3 separate regions of the Homo sapiens genome follow, and all the other regions are linked to region 2. Evidence: promoter capture Hi-C in human tissues and cell types (Jung and others, 2019). All regions are on one chromosome and are shown on one strand. Each heading gives the region's core, a stretch centred on a gene start or on the middle of the fragment in contact. The rest is flanking DNA. Distances are from core to core; before and after follow the strand shown.

What was found. The method cuts DNA at HindIII sites, captures the fragments that hold promoters and counts their contacts. A contact is called where the count stands out against the background at its distance.
Region 1: a contact is called between a fragment that was not itself captured here and the fragment with the promoter of CYP2A6 in region 2, in 1 of the 25 tissues and cell types used here (spleen).
Region 3: a fragment that was not itself captured here is called in contact with the fragment with the promoter of CYP2A6 in region 2 in 2 of the 25 tissues and cell types used here (H1 embryonic stem cells and mesenchymal stem cells).

What each region holds. Positions count from the first base shown.
Region 1 is chr19:40,664,681-40,667,609 of GRCh38, forward strand. It overlaps NUMBL (NUMB like endocytic adaptor protein), which reads right to left. Exons shown (of 10, transcript NM_004756.5): 10 at 1,225-2,929. The coding sequence ends at 2,788. Among named protein-coding and RNA genes, the nearest start is that of NUMBL, 25 kb to the right of the region's middle. The HindIII fragment of the contact is 6,620 bases long and covers 1-2,929 here.
Region 2 is chr19:40,849,150-40,851,849 of GRCh38, forward strand. CYP2A6 (cytochrome P450 family 2 subfamily A member 6) reads right to left here and starts at 1,298. Exons shown (of 9, transcript NM_000762.6): 1 at 1,098-1,298; 2 at 669-831. The coding sequence starts at 1,277. RefSeq lists promoters at 1,277-2,296, 1,277-1,413 and an enhancer at 2,466-2,494. The HindIII fragment of the contact is 10,166 bases long and covers 1-2,700 here.
Region 3 is chr19:41,003,646-41,006,488 of GRCh38, forward strand. It overlaps CYP2B6 (cytochrome P450 family 2 subfamily B member 6), which reads left to right. Exons shown (of 9, transcript NM_000767.5): 2 at 356-518; 3 at 652-801. Among named protein-coding and RNA genes, the nearest start is that of CYP2B6, 14 kb to the left of the region's middle. The HindIII fragment of the contact is 5,944 bases long and covers 1-2,843 here.

The DNA of each region.
Region 1 (2,929 bases), core at 422-2,921, 180 kb before region 2:
TAGTTCCAGCTACTTGGGAGGCTGAGGCAGGAGAATCGCTTGAGCCCAGGAGGTGGAGGCTGCAATGAGATCACACCACTGCACTCCAGCCTGGGCGACAGAGTGAGACTCTGTCTCAAAAAATAAATAAATCCTAATGAAAGGATAGGATGGGGCTCAGGGCCTTGGAAGAGGGTCACCTTCTAACAAAAGGTATTTGAACGGAGTCCTAAAGAATGAGTAGCATTCTTCTGGGAAGTGCTGTGTCACCATGAAGGAAAGGGTGTTCTAGGCAGAAAGAATGACAAATGCAAAAGCTTGGAGGTGAGAGTGTGGCTTATCTCTGGCAGGGTCCTCTGCTCCCTGCCTGGGACATTCCCCCAACGTCATACCCCGACAGAGCTGTCTTAGGTCTCCTAGTCCTGGAGTCCACAAGCAGGTTAATGGGATGTAATGGAAACGCTATAGAGGGCAGACCCCTAGGCTTGTTCCCTCACAGCCTGATGCTTTTTTGTTTTTGAGACAGAGTCTCGCTCTGTTGCCCAGGCTGGAGTGCAGTGGCGTGATCTTGGCTCACTGCAACCTTGGCCTCCCAGGTTCAAGCGATTGTCCTGCCTCAGCTTCCCAAGTAGCTGAGATTACAGGCACCCACCACCACGCCTGGCTAAGTTTTGTATTTTTAGTAGAGACGGAGTTTCACCATGTTGGCCAGGCTAGTCTCGAACTCCCAACCTCAGGTAATCCACTTGCCTCGGCTTCCCAAAGTGCTGGGATTAAAGGCATGAGCCACCACGCCCAGCCTTTTGTTTTGTCTGCTTTTTTAGACAGGGTCTCACGCTGTCACCCTCACAGGCTGGAGTGCAGTGACTGCATCACGGACCACTGCAGCCTGGACCTCCCAGGCTCAAGCAATCCTCCCACCTCAACCTCTCCAGCAGCTGGGACTACAGGCGTATGCCACCACGCCCACCTAATTTTAAAATTATTTTGTAGAGACAGGGTCTCATTATGTTGCCCAGGCTGGCCTCGAACTCCTGGGCTCAAGCGATCCTCCCACCTTGGCCTCCCGAAGTGCTGGGCTTACAGGTGAGAGCCACCTCAGTGCCCGGCCTCAGCCTGATGGTTTCACGACTGCCTTTGACTTTGGCCCACACTAATCAAATGTATCACCGTGGGCCACTGACTCAACTTCCCCATCTATCCAGTGGGAATAGAATATTGGACTGCACAAAATCAACCACCTCATTTTAAAGAGCTATAACGAAACAAAATTTATATGTTATATATTTTTAAAAATACATCTTATAGATTAAAGGACTCAAGAAACAATAGCAAGACTGTAAAACGTTGCCACATCAGGTGACACTTTGGCCAGAGTTATGGAAAATGCTGACAAAACAAGAATTTGCCAGCATGGGCAAAGATATACTGTTACCAACCCAACTTGTTAAAATATTAATATTGAGCTAATTAGAAGTAGTTTTTTTTTTTTTGTTTTTTTTTTTTGAGACAGAGTCTCATTCTGTTGCCCAGGCAGGAGTGCAATGGTGTGACCTCAGGTCACTGCAACCTCTGCTGCCTGGGTTCAAGCGATTCTTGTGCCTCAGCCTCCTGGAATTACAGGCGCCTGCCACCACGCCCGGCTAATTTTTGAATTTTTGGTAGAGACTGGGTTTCTCCATGGCGGCCAGGCTGGTCTCGAACTCCTGACCTTAAGTGATCTGCCTGCCTCGACCTCCCAAAGTGCTGGGATTACAGGCGTGAGCCACTGTGCCCAGCCAGCAGTTCATAATATTTGTTTTTTATTCCTTGATTCTAACTCTGTAAGGAATAGAAATGGGGTGATTAATTTTGGCTCCTTTAATACCCGCCTGGCAGGTGCTGAGTCAGTGGTACCTGTTACCACGCTATGACTCAGAGGTTATCACTCAGGGACATCCTTCTGACTCTGTTTCAGTCCATGACTCAGGAGGAAAGGTTCTAGGGCCTCACCAGCGCCCTACACACACCCTCGTTTCCCGAGGGGCACCATTATATTCTTCCTTTATTGGCTGTCCTTGTATAATACAAATCTTCAAGTTTAGATACAAAAAAAATCTGGAAATAAAAGATAGAAAAGTACCCGCCAGGCACCCCTTCCCCTTCTTCCCGGACCCCTCCCCAGCGGGCACCGACATGAGGTAACTGCGCATCTTCTCCTCCTCCTCCCTCCCCGCCTCCTGGGCCCCCAACTTGGCCCTAGCCCCCATGAGACCTTGGCCCAAGGAAGACATGGGCCCCAAAGTTGGAGGGTGATGGAGGTGAGTACAGCATTGGCAGTGAACGCAGCGTGTGGGCAGAGGGCAGCCCTTAGCTTGTGCTGTGCATGGGGGGAGGAGACGACCAGATTTGGGGTGGGCACTGGTGTGGGGCCCAGGAGAGCCCCTAAGCAAGTGTCCCCCCTCCATCCTGTCCAACACTGGAAGGTGGGGGTCAACAGAAACTGGGAAATGGAGTGTGAACCAAGGGCATTCAGTGGGATTGTGGCCAACCCCTGTGTCTGGGGTTGGGGAAGGGGGCATTGCCAGCCTAAGTCCGGCAGTGAAATGGTTCCCTTAGCCAGGCTGGGTCCGTCCCTGAATTCCATCCTGTTGCAACCTGGGCGTCACAATGTTGGTTCTGTAGTGGTTGTCGGGGTGGTTGAGGGAGGGGGGTGTTGAGAGGGTGTTGAGGGGCGCAGCCCCAGGGAGCAGGGTTAGGGGAGAGGTTGTGCCTCCACCCCCAGGCGTGGGGCACCTGGAGATGATGGAGTGGGTGGGGCGGCTCGGGCTACAGTTCAATCTCGAATGTCTTTTGCAGGTCGCCAGAAAAGGGGTTGGAGGGTTTCTCTACAGTGGCTTTGCCTTCTAATGCCGCCCACTGGGCCTCAAAGGGGTCCAACTCTGGAGCTGGGGCAGGCGCTGGCTCAGGG
Region 2 (2,700 bases), core at 48-2,547:
ATAGAAACAGAGGGATAAGGGGACACTCCATGGAGGAAGGGAAGGAAGTGGGGAGAGAAAGAGAGTGATGGAGGAAGAGGATGGAGGGAGGGGAAGTGAGATATGGGGAGATCTGGGAGGAGGAAATAAAAATGGTGAAAGATTCTTAAGCTGAGCTGGAGAAGAGAGAAAAATATTGAGATAGAAACAGAGAGGGTCTGGAAGGAAGAGAGACTGTTACCAGGAGATGGAGGCTGAAGATGTGGAAGTAGGAATACCCTGAAATCCTAAGACAGAGGAAGAAGTGAGAAAGGGATGCGGAGAGATGAGAAACACAGAGAAGCCCAGAAGCTAAGAGGGACAAAAAGACAAATGAAGACAGAGAACCAGGGCTGGAAAACAGAAACCCAGGATGTCCTTAGAGATGGAGAGAGAGGGGAAAGAGGAGACTCCAGTGAGAGAGAATAAGGAGGTGGGGCAGAGAGAGGCAGGGAGGAATCAGGACAGGGACGCTGGAGACAGGTGAGGGATACACATGGAGAGGCCACAATGAAGGGAGATGGGGAGGGAAGACCAGACTGGGGACTCTGCCTTAGCCTCCAGTTGGCAGGAGAGTCAGGGAGAAGGCTGGGAACACTGAGACCTTCGTGTCCACCTGGCCACCTTCCCCCTCTTGGGCACCCCCTCACCATAGCCTTTGAAGACCCAGTCGAAGGTGGCTTGCTCGCCTCGCCCGCTGAACTCCTCAGCCTGGTCCACCAGAGCCTCCCTGACGGCATCATGTCCACACAGCACCACGACCCGCCGGGGCCCCAAGTGAATGGTGAACACGGGGCCATAGCGCTCACTGATCTGATGGAGGTGGGTGGGAGTGGTTAGAGGGAGAAGCCTCCACTCTGAATGGGGCCCAGCACCGAGATGTCATGTGCTGGGATGCTTCGCACCCAGGTTCTCACAGTCAGGGAGCTGGACATCCCAAGATCCTGTCTTTCTGATGCTGAAACTCCAAAACTCCATTTCCTAAGACTCTGGTCCACACTGGTCAACCCCCTGCCACAAAGCCCCAGCCAACTAGGCAGCCCCCACCCCGTGCCACCCATCTCCCTGCCTTGGGACACCTTCATGAGGGAGTTGTACATCTGCTCTGTGTTCAGCTGCAGGTAGTTTCCAATGAAGGGCAATGGGGTGGGTCCCGGAGGCAGCTTCCCCTTGCTCTTCCTCTGCTGCCAAACAGACATCAAGACCATTACAGTCAGGCAGACCAGCAAGGCCACCAGAAGCATCCCTGAGGCCAGCATGGTGGTAGTGGGATGATAGATGGTGACGGCTGGGGTGGTTTGCCTTTATACTGCCTGAAAAAGAGGGATGGACTTTGGCTGATTACATAATTACCTCATTTCACCTCCCAACTACATGCCCCACCATGAATCCTGCCTAGCTTGGGACACAGCCAGCAAGGGAGGATAAGGGGACCCCAGGGCAGCTGAACAGAGAGGGGGCCTCCAGACTAAATCTGTGGTACTTCAGGAGGGGTGCCGCAGGGCTGTGGATTTAGGAGGGGGCAACAGATAAGCTGTAGAACTGAGGAGTTTGGAATATTTGCATAGGGGAGCACTTGGGCTTTGGATTTGGGGTCTGAGAGTGAGAATGCACCCCAAAGTTGTGGATCTGGGGGTTCCAGGGGAGAGGAATCCAAAGGTCTGGGTTTTATTAGGGTAAGACAAAGTGTGGCTGTGCATTTAGGGGTCTTCTGTTGTGGAGGATGCAGGGTTAAGGGTCTCAGGAAGGGGGATTCCAGGCATATGGACTTGAAAGTCTCGGGGCTAGGAAGACCCAGGGCTGTGGGTGTGGAGTTTCTGGGAGGAGGAGTGTGTAGCAAGCCCAGCGGGTTCTCCCAGAAAGCCCAGCAGCCCAGCACTGGGTCCAGGGGCTGACTTGATTTTGCTTTTGCCCAGAGCTGTCTCTTGATGCCCAGAATCCTCATTGGAACCTCAGAGTGAGGCCAGGATGGGTGCCATAGAACCTCCACTGCCCATCTCTGATTGGGAAGGGGAGGAAGACCAGAGCCATATTTCAGGGGAACTTTCCCCACACCTGGAGAAGAGTACCTGGAGTTAGCGGTTGGCAGAGGGATTGGCTAGGTCTGGAGAAATAGTAATAACAACCCCCAAATGGTGGAAAAATCTCAAGTGTCCCAAGGGTTGTCCGCTGGTTTCCAACCCAGATCCTCAGGGAAACCCACTAGATTGATTGTATCATCCCTATTAATATTATGATTGTTGTTTATGTTTCTCATTTTATATAAAGATCTACAGAGGACAGAAAACAGACAGTGGGCAGGGGACATGTGTGAGTGGCCCTGAACTCCCATCTCTCCTGCTCTGTGTACTTAGTTCCCCTTTCTGGATTTGGTTTTCCTGCCAGTGGAAAGGGAGTGTTTGGGAAGAGAAGATCACATTCGAGGGTGAGTTAAGTCTCCTTTAAGAATGATTCCTGCTTTGTCAGGGGCTACTACTATTAGCAGGCAGAGGGAACAGTGGCAGAAGAGATTGGGGTAAACTCCAGTATTAGGCACAGAGGCAGATCCTGGGGTGGGTGTGAGTGGAGAAGGGATGAGTAGCCCTCCTGTCCTTCCCTCAGGGAAATTCTTCCTTAGTAAACAGGACAGTTACCCTTTGGTGAGCATGGTCGTATACGGGAAGATTAAGTCTAGGTGTGTAT
Region 3 (2,843 bases), core at 336-2,835, 150 kb after region 2:
GTCCAACCTGCCTTATTTTGTTGTTGTTCTGTTTTGTTTTGTTTTAGCTTTTTAGCAGCCTGAAGCCATGGTTTTCAGTTTCTGTCTCCAGTGATACACAGAAAGGAAGGATGAGGAAGGGGCTTTACTGGCCCAACCAGAAACGGAAACTAAGAACCCATGACTGTATTCTCTCCCTTGGACAGCGTTAACCATTAACCCTTAATTGCTGGGTCCCAGCAGGGGAAAGGGCAGCCTGGGGAGGCGGATGTTGGGGAGGGGCTAATTACCAATCTGGTATGTAAGTATTTTGATAGTTTTACAAATGAGGTGTATGCTGACTAACAGCCACCCCTGGTGTGGATGTGATTGGCAGTTCCGAGAGAAATATGGGGACGTCTTCACGGTACACCTGGGACCGAGGCCCGTGGTCATGCTGTGTGGAGTAGAGGCCATACGGGAGGCCCTTGTGGACAAGGCTGAGGCCTTCTCTGGCCGGGGAAAAATCGCCATGGTCGACCCATTCTTCCGGGGATATGGTGAGAGCCTCAGAGGCACTGGGAGGGGGCGGGTGGGGGGTGCATCAGGGAAGGGAGTATATGGGAGGAAGAAGGACTCAGAGCCTTCTTCCAACTTCTTCTACAACCAACCCACACCTCCCCTGCACCCCAGGTGTGATCTTTGCCAATGGAAACCGCTGGAAGGTGCTTCGGCGATTCTCTGTGACCACTATGAGGGACTTCGGGATGGGAAAGCGGAGTGTGGAGGAGCGGATTCAGGAGGAGGCTCAGTGTCTGATAGAGGAGCTTCGGAAATCCAAGGGTGAGTCCTGGGGGATGAATAGGAAAGAAAGACAATGAAACACTGAGAGATGCAGGTGCACGGGAATAGAAAGACAGAGAGGTATATAAGGGCACAGACAGAGACAGACGAAACTGGAGACACCATCAGACAGAGGGATAGAGACAGAGAGGGAGAGAGACAGGGGAATAGAGAGGGATGGGGATGGGCAGGAGAGAAACACAGAGAGCCAGGGAAAGAGAGAGATGCCAGGTGTATAATGTCCAAGAGTTACTCAAAGAGGCTGGATGTGATGACTCTCACCTGTAATCCCAGTACTTTGGGAAGCTCAGGCAGGAGGATTGCTTGAGGCCAAGAGTTGGAGAACAGCCTGGGCAACATAATGAGATCCTGTCTCTACACAATATAGAAAAGAAGTGAGCCACGCATGGTGGTGTGTGCCTGTAGTCCCAGCTACTCAGGAGGCTAAGGTGGGACTACAGGATCACTTGAGCCCAGGAGGTTGAGGTTGCAGTGAGCTGTGATTGTACCACTGCACTCCAGCCTGGACAACAGAGCAAGATCCTGTCTCAAACAAACAAACAAACCCTCAAAGACATATAATTTCATGGATCAATTGTGTCTGTCAAAGTCAAAAACGGAAGTTAAGTAAAAGAAAAAAACTACAGACATTTAACAAATAATGAACTGTGTTTTCCTTGCCCTGGGTGAAGTGCTGATGAGCTGGCAGTGAGCAGACAGGCCAGGTGGGGTGTTCTGCCCGGGTGCAGCTGGAGGGGTCATCAAAGAATCACTAGGTTATTTTTGAGTTCTCCATAACTTGGTGTCTGTGAGACATGTAGGTGAAGGGTCTCTGGCTAGCACCTCCATCTCATTCATGCCAGGTGTTTACCATCTCTCTTATCAAAATTTCTCAAGAGACTCTGGGATGTAAATGCAGAGGCTGCATGGGGAGGTAGAGACCCAGGAGCTATAGGGAAACGGGGACAAGAAGACTGAAGAGAAGGACAGGAAGAAACAGTGACACAGGCAGGAGGAAAGAGACAGATGGAGGGACCAAAACAAAAAAATATAGGTTGGGTATGGGGCTCATGCCTGTAATCCCAGCACTTTGGGAGGCTGAGGCTGGCGGATCATTTGAGGCCAGCAGTTCAAAACCAGCCTGGCCAACATGGTGAAACCCCATCTGTGCTAAAAATACAAAAATTAGCCAGGCTTGGTAGCACGTGCCTTTAATCCCAGCTACTCAGGAGGCTGAGACAGGAGAATTGATTGAGCCTGGGAAATGGAGGTTGCCGTGAGCTAAGATCACACTACTGCACTCCAGTCTGCATGATAGAGTGAGACTCTGTCTCCAAAAATAATAATAATAATAATAAAATAAAGAACGGCAGGGGGGAGACAAATATACACACAGAGAGACAGAAAGAAACAAAGGCAAAGAGAAATTGAGGCAGAGAAAATTAGAGAGACAGACAGACAAAGCTTAGGAAAAGGTCTGCAGAGGAATGAGAGAAGACAGGCAAGTGAGAACCAGAGAGAGGCTGCACTAACCTGATGTTCTTGGGTCCTTACAGACCACTCTCCCTCCAGCTGGGGCCAGTGCTGAGCCTGGTGTATACAGGTATCACTTAACAAGTACAGAATAATTCCCAGAAGACTGGAGAGCCCTAGATGTGGAAAGAAGAGATTAAGGGGGAGTAATAGGTAGGGGTGGAAAGATGGTTTTTTATTTGTTTTAAATTAGAGACGGGGTCTCACTCTGTACCCAGGCTGGAGTGCAGTGGCACGATCATAGCTCACTGCAGCCTCAAACTCCTGGGCCCATGTGATCCTCCCACTTCAGCCCCTGGACTATTTCAACTGGGACTACAGGCATGTGCCACCATGTCTAGCTACATTTTTTTTTTTTTTTTTTTGTAGAGACAGGGTCTCCTTATGTTGCCCAGGCTGGTCTTGAATTCCTGATCCTTTTGAATCAGGCTCCCGAAGTGCTGGGTTTAGAGGTATGGGCCCCTGTGCCCACCCAGGGCTTTTTAATTTATATAAGCAATTGATTGAAC